2 separate regions of the Homo sapiens genome follow, and region 2 is linked to region 1. Evidence: promoter capture Hi-C in human tissues and cell types (Jung and others, 2019). All regions are on one chromosome and are shown on one strand. The core of a region is centred on a gene start or on the middle of the fragment in contact, and the rest is flanking DNA. Distances in the headings are between cores, read along the strand shown. Region 1 holds the start of TLR10 (toll like receptor 10). Region 2 overlaps RELL1 (RELT like 1).

What was found. The method cuts DNA at HindIII sites, captures the fragments that hold promoters and counts their contacts. A contact is called where the count stands out against the background at its distance.
Region 2: a contact is called between a fragment that was not itself captured here and the fragment with the promoter of TLR10 in region 1, in 1 of the 25 tissues and cell types used here (dorsolateral prefrontal cortex).

What each region holds. Positions count from the first base shown.
Region 1 is chr4:38,781,206-38,785,107 of GRCh38, forward strand. TLR10 (toll like receptor 10) reads right to left here and starts at 1,785. Exons shown (of 4, transcript NM_030956.4): 1 at 1,716-1,785. RefSeq lists enhancers at 665-874, 937-1,106. The HindIII fragment of the contact is 2,112 bases long and covers 358-2,469 here.
Region 2 is chr4:37,680,177-37,684,078 of GRCh38, forward strand. The region is part of intron 1 of RELL1 (RELT like 1); the gene reads right to left. Among named protein-coding and RNA genes, the nearest start is that of RELL1, 4.2 kb to the right of the region's middle. RefSeq lists an enhancer at 2,598-2,647. The HindIII fragment of the contact is 3,589 bases long and covers 258-3,846 here.

The DNA.
Region 1 (3,902 bases), core at 535-3,034:
ATGTTGCCAAGGCTGCTCTTAAACTCCTGGCCTCCAGCAATCTTCCCACCTCAGCCTCCCAAATGGGTGTGATTAGAGGTGTGAGCCACTGTGCTTGGCCTCATTAAAGCAATTTTAAAAGTAGGACATACACTTTTTTTTTTTTTTGAGATGGAGTCTCGCTCTGTTGCCCAGGCTGGAGTAAAGTGGTATGATCTCAGCTCACTGCAAGCTCCACCTCCCAGGTTCAAGCGATTCTCCTGCCGCAGCCTCCTGAGTAGCTGGGATTACAGGCACCTGCCATCACACCCGGCTAATTTTTGTATTTTTAGTAGAGATGGGGTTTCACCATGTTGGTGATGTAGTCTATAAATAGTATATATATGTTAATATCATATCCCTACTACTACGTTAAAAGCAGGTAAAAAACAGAGAATGACCTTCCTTAATACATCTTTAATATCTTATAATTTAAAAGTCCAAGTCAAAAGACATCATCAAATGACAACTAGTGTTTTACCAAAGAATATTTAATCATCTAATTTATCTTTTCCCAATGATATAAAGAAATAGAAAAGAGATTAAGAACCTATTGAATGTTGAATGATCTTTGCAACATAAGAGTAAGAATGACTTCTTTTCAGTATTTCCTACGTGTCTGACATGGAGCTAAGTGTTTTATGTCCATTACCTTGTTTAATCCCTCAATGACTCAACAAAATGGCGGCCATTATTATTCATATTTTACAGATGGAGGAGCTAAAGCCCAGAGGTAAAGTAACTTGCCCAAGATGACCAACTGAAGAAGCAGAGATTTGAACCCAGACCTGTCTGGTTCCTTCTGGATGGTAACTAAACCCAAATGCAAGGCACCTCAAACCTTGAAATGAGGTGGCTTAAGATGTAACGACATCCTAAGGACCGAATCACTGAGGTTGAATCCATTGATCTGACCAGCTGCCATGGCGGCCACTTCCTCCTTTCTCACCCCATGCCCCTGTCTATGAAGCTTCATGCAGCTGCTGTGGGACACTCTGCTAGGTGCCACAAAGTTCAAGAGACTTTGCCTACATGTATAAATATATTCTTAGGAAAGTTATAAGTTCACAAGAATTGAAATAAAACTCGAAGTGCATCCTATTCCTAATTAATAGCTCAGTGTAGGTGGTCTGGGAGAAAGCTTATCAAGAAACCAAATGCTCACAGGTTGTTAACCATCCTCTTCTTTACAGCAACCACATATGGCCCTCTTTGTCCACTTCTGAAGGAAACGGAATAAGAACTGCATTGTACAAGATCCATCAGATCTGCCCCTACTTTTAAACAGGTAACACAAATGCAGAACTTTTCAACGGGGTAAAGGAGCAACAAATATGCCTTAAATAGCCAAAGGTTTCATCCAGCAGAGGTTAACATACGCTGTGGGGAAATAAGAGCTAGAAAAAACTTGCCACAGTGCATAGGACCGTTCAATCTGAATAGAAGAGCTGACCAGGTTTGATCCGCAATCAGTGAAAAGAAACCCACGCTCTCAAGCATCTGCAAGAAATTCCTCAGATCAATAGCCCCAAGGTCACTAATCATTAATCTAGACAAAATAGTAAATACTAAAAATCTAAATAACCCTACTTCCCTCCCCTCAATATTAGCTCAAATTATCTCCTTTTTAGAAAATACCCATGCAGCCCTTATATCTTTTTAATGAGAGTTACAACAAACAAAGCTAAGGTTCTTACCCCACGGCTTGCACTCTCTCAGCAGAGCTGCAGGTGCGTGGATGATTCGTTGACACGGTCAGAATTGGCTGCAGGAGGGAATTGAATCGAGGTTTTCTGTAAAGCTTAAACCCCATCCGCCCTCTTCTGCATGCTACTGGTATTGCATGTTATATATATTCATTATAATCTTAGCACTTTTTTAAATTGTGGTCAAATACACATAACATAGGAGTTATCATGCTCACCATCTTTCTATTTTTATTTTTATTTTTATTTTTTTTGAGGTAGGGTCTCACTTTGTCACCCAGGCTGGAGTGCAGTGGTGTGATCACTGCTCACTGCAGCCTTGACCTCTTGCGCTAAAGCCCGCAAGAGGCTGGGCTTCTCAGTCCCGCAAATGTCTGGGACTACAGGCGCTCACCAACTGGCCTGGCTAAGTTTTTTGTATTTTTTGTAGAGACGGGGTTTCGCCAGTTGCCCAGGCTGGTCTTGAACTCCTGAGCTCAAGTGATCTGCCTGTCTCGGCCTCCCAAAGTGCTAGGATTACGGTGTGAGCCACCGCGCCTGACCTTAAGCATTTTTAAATGTACAATTTAGTGGCATTAATTAAGTACATTCACACTGTTGTGCAACCACCACCACTGCCCATCTCCAAAGATTTTTCGTCATCCCAAACTGAAATTCTATGCCATTAAAAAATAATTTCCCATTTTCCCCTTCCCTCAGACCCTGGAAACTATAATTCTACTTTCTGTCTGTGTGAATTTGACTACTCTAGGTACCTCATGTCCGTGGAGTTATACCATATTTGGTTTTTTGTGACTGGCTTATTTCATTGAGCATAATGTCTTTAAGGTTCATCCATATCATTTCTATTATTATTACATAGAATAATAGAATCTTTCCTTCCTTTTTTAAGGCTGAATACTATTTTGTTGTATGTACGTCCCACATTTTGTTCATTCATTCATCCATCAATGGACATTTGGGTAGTTTTCACCTTTTGGCTCTTGTGAATAATGCTGCTGTGAACGTGGTGCACAAATATCTATTTAAGTTGGTACTTAACATTCTTTTGAGTCTATACCTAGAAGTGGAATTCACGGATCGTATGACCATTCTGTTTAATTTTTTGCAGAACTACCATACTGGTTTTCCACAGCATCTTAGAGCTCTTTGATGATGCTTTTCTTCAAGGTGCAGGTCGGTTATCCCTTTCATCAGTTGGGTGGGGCAGTCATGTGATGATGGGCAGGAGTAGGAATGGTGACTCCATAATTTCAGCAATCAGGCAGGAAGAGGGTGGAAAGGAGTTATCTAGAGCAGTGGTCCCCAACCCCTGGGCCACAGACAGGTACCAGTTCATGGCCTGTTAGGAACCGAGCCACACAGCAGGAGGTGAGTGGTGGGTAAGCAAATGAAGCTTCATCTGTATTTACAGTCGCTCCCCATCGCTTGCATTACCACCTGAGCTCCACACCCTGTCATATCAGTGGCAGCATTAGATTCTCATAGGAGCTTGGACCCTACTGTGAGCTGCATATGGGAGGGATCTAGGTTGCGTGCTCCTTATGAGAATCTAATGTCTGATGATCTGTCACTGCTTCCCATCATGTCAGATGGGACCATCTAGTTGCAGGAAAACAGGCTCAGGGCTTCCACTGATTCTACATTATGGTGAGTTGTATAATTATTTCATTATATATTACAATGTCATAATAATAGAAATAAAGTGCACAATAAATGTAATGTGCTTGAATCATCCCGAAACCATCTCTCCTCCATCTCCAAACCCGGTCTGTGGAAAAACTGTCTTCCATGAAATTGGTCCTGGTGCCAAAAAGATTGGAGACCTCTGACCTAGAGGCCTTTTCTTGAAGTGAAGTGGTAAAATAAGCATGGTATTTTTTAAAATGTAGATCGCAAAGTACGGATCAATTTTTAAAGCAACATTTTTGAGGTTTTTTTCATACTTGACTTAAGATTTAGGTGACTGCTGGAGATCACGAGTAAAGAAGAAAATTTCCAGATGGATTTGTCTACAGGAGGAATGATCAATTTAAACATGAATGATTATAATAGATTTATGTCTTATAAAATTGGGGAGTGGGTGGGTTCTTAAAATACATTTTTTAACTATCATATTGGGGTTTTTAAATTTAAAATGTAGTCCATGTATTTCCACATATATTGTAGGGGGAAATC
Region 2 (3,902 bases), core at 802-3,301, 1.1 Mb before region 1:
TAACAAATTAGCGAATATGTTTTTCAGAGAAAATAACAAGAATATGAAATTGAGTCTTTTTGGCTATTGCTGTGAGAATGTAACCTGGGATGACCTTCAGATCAACACTGATGTCATCAATTGCCTCAAAAATGTGAACATCTTTGACCCTCAAAGTGCCTTTTCAGGAACCCATTTTCTGTGGAAGTCCTCTGATATTTAGGCAAAGTTTCATGCACAGAGGCATTCATTGAAATGAGTTTTAAAACTCACTTAAAAATAATGAGCAACTGAAATCTCCCAAATAGATACATAGAAGTAAAATACAGTGAATCCATATAGTGGAACAGTAGGCAGCCCTTTTTTGGGTGTATAGGGAAATAGAGAAACATTTCTGTGTAACATAAACTGAAAAAGTCATGATACAAAGTTATATTGCATTATGAACCTATCCGAGTTAAAAATGCAATTAAAGAACCTATGCGAGTTAAGAACGCAATTACAGGCTCATGCCTGTAATCCCAGCACTTTGGGAGGCCGAGGCGGGCGGATCATGAGGTCAGAAGATCGAGACCATCCTGGCTAACACGGTGAAACACTGTCTCTACTAAAAATATAAAAACAAAATTAGCCAAGCATGGTGGTGGGCGCCTGTAGTCCCAGCTACTTGGGAGGCTGAGGCGGGAGAATGGCATGAACCCTGGAGGCGGAGCTTGCAGTGAGCTGAGATCGCGCCGCTGCACTCCAGCCTGGGTGACAGAGCAACACTCCATCTCAAAAAAAAAAAAAAAAAAAAAATGCAATTAGAGAAGACCAGAATGAAATATGCTAACAATGGCTAGTGCCTTGGAGTAATGGAATCAAGGGTGATTCTCGCTCCTTCCTCCCACAAACTTTAGATCTTTGGGGAAATTTTCCAAAAATACCTAGTGCACTGTATTTTAGCTAAAGGGAAATGAGAAAAGATGGCTTGGCTACTTAACTCCTATGCAACAGTAGCAAACTCTAATCTGAGGTGTCACTCTGGGCTTTTTAAAAATCCCTATCATTGCAAAGCTATCACCACCTCCAGAATAAAAACTGTTTAATATATGTGGTCCACATTTATTTGACAGTTTAAATGACGTAATATAAATCAAGCCTAATGCGCACTCTGGAGAAAAAATACTATATTTTTTAAAGATACACAGGATAAAAGATATATGCCACTTTGCCATTTACCCAGAACTTTCAGAGACAAGAGCTCAGTAAGACAGAGCAGCCAGTAGGACAGAGAGACAGGTGTTGGCACAATGCCCATTTTACAGGTGAGGAAATGGAGGTGGACAGAACCATATGCTGCAGGCATCAGGGTCTCCTTCTGTTTTTTTTTTTTTTTTTTTTTTTTTTTTGAGACGGAGTCTTGCTCTGTCACCCAGGCTGGAGTGCAGTGGCACGATCTCAGCTCACTGCAACCTCCGCTTCCCAGGTTCGAGTGATTCTCCTGCCTCAGCCTCCCCAGTAGCTGGGACTACAGGCATGTGCCACCACATCCAACTAATTTTTGTATTTCTAGTAGAGACGGGGTTTCACCATATTGGCCAGGCTGGTCTTGAACTCCTGACCTCGTGATCTGCCCGCCTTGGCCTCCCAAAGTGCTGCGATTACAGGCGTGAGCCACTGCACCCGGCTTCCTTCTGATTTTTGACTTCAAGTCCAAGGCCCTGACTTAAGGCTTGGTGCTCTTTCCACCATAGCATCCCATGACCTTGTTACTTACTGATTCTTTACAAATATGTTAGAATAAAAAGAATTTTCTTACTCAAAAAAATAGTTTAGTAATAATAAGCATGGACTTCAAAATCAAACAGATCTGACTCAATGGACTCCATGACAAAATCCAGCTTACACATGAGTGACTTTTTCAACTTCTCTGAGGCTCAATTTCCTCATCTACAAACACAGGAATAAAATTATGTATATAACTGACAGGAAATTAATTGTAAGAATGAAATGATCTAGGTATTTAGACTACCGCCTGCACACAAACCAGGTAATAATAAAAATTGAATTCCTTTTTCCTAAAAGAGTAAAGTGTCTACAGTGTACTAACACCAAATTCTGATTTTAGTTTTTATAAATCACACCAGAATTATTAATATACCCGCTTTCAGCAGCACACCAAATCTTTACAACCACTTAAGTGTCCGAAATTATTAGGAACCACTCAACCTAATAGTTTATACCAATGACAATTTAATTTATTCTTTTTGTCAGCTTTAAATCATTTCTCTATTGTTTCAATAAGTCATTAAACTTCAACATTAGGGCCAAAGAATCATTTTTAAAGAAACAATAAAATCTGTTGTTTGTTCACTTGGGGCTTTGGTCTCTCACATTCAAATTCAACTCTTCAAATTTCCAAATAGATTCATTTCATTTCCATTTTTAGAGGGGGTAGGGGCAGGGAATTGACAGAGACTTCTCACATTTTTCATTTCCTTTTAAAATTAAATGTAGATATGGACTCCCAAGCTCCAAGGTGTGCTTTTTCAAAACTTTCCAAACACTATATATTATGTGGATGTACAGCTTCGCAGCTACCTGGCTAAGAGAGACCCCAGAATTTAATAAAGCTTATCTTTAGTTTCTAAAAAGGAGTCAGAATGCTGGAGGGAAGCCTGCAGCCCAAGGACAATGCATTTTTCATCTCACCAGCCCCAGGACCTCTTCCACCCACTCCTTACTCGAGGGCTATGCCCACTGTCTGAGAGAGAAACTAATAAACCTGAAGGTTGAGTAACCAGAGAACTTAAGGACATTAATAAGCCAAGACGTGGAAAATCATCCCTTTGGGTGCTTGTGGTATATAGTTTCGAATGCTGCTGCTAAGAGACAAGTTTAATGAGATTCTTCTACTAGGAAGGAAGTGAAAAAGGCATTGCCACTACCCACCGTGAAGCTATCTGCCCTTCTTTTCTCTACTTGACAACTTCTGATAACCACATGCTTACAATTTTATGACGTTCTAAACTATCTTAGAATCTCAGCGAGATTGCAGAGGTTGACTCATATTCTATTTTTCCTCTGCAGAGCAGTGGGGTACAGTGGAAAGGGAATGAACTTTGGAATCAAGCAGGCTGGGTTATCCCAGATAAAGATACATATAAAGGTACACACATACACAGACACCTCCTAGTGGTTCTGCTTCTCTGAATGCTGACTGGCACAGTACCTATGTGATGTTCAGCCAGTTGTTTAACCTCTCTTGCCTCAGTTGCCTTACTGGAAGTAAGTATTTCACAGGGTTATGAGCAATGAGTTTAAAAATGCCTATGAAGGCTGGGCGCGGTGGCTCACACCTGTAATCCCTGCACTTTGGGAGGTCGAGAAGGGCGGATCACTTGAGGTCAGGAGTTACAAACCAGCATAGCCAACATGGGGAAGCCCCGATTCTACTAAAAAATACAAAAATTTGCCAGGCATGGTGGCGGGCGCCTATAATCCCAGCTACTAGGGAGGCTGAGGCAGGAGAATTGCTTGAGCCTGGGAGGTGGAGGTTGTAGTGAGCTGAGATCGCACCACTGCACCTCAGCCTGGGAGTCAGAGCAAGACTCTGTCTCAAAAAACAATAAAAATAAAAATAAATAAACAAATAAAAATGCGGCCGGGCGCGGTGGCTCACGCCTGTAATCCCAGCACTTTGGGAGGCCAAGGTGGGCGGATCACGAGGTCAGGAGATGGAGACCATCCTGGCTAACACGGTGAAACCCCGTCTCTACTAAAAATATAAAAAATTAGCCAGGCATGGTGGCGGGCGCCTGTAGTCCCAGCTACTCTGGAGGCTGAGGCAGGAGAATGGCGTGAACCCGGGAGGCGGAGCTTGCAGTGAGATCGCGCCACTGCACTCCAGCCTGGGCGACAGAGCAAGACTCCGTCTCAAA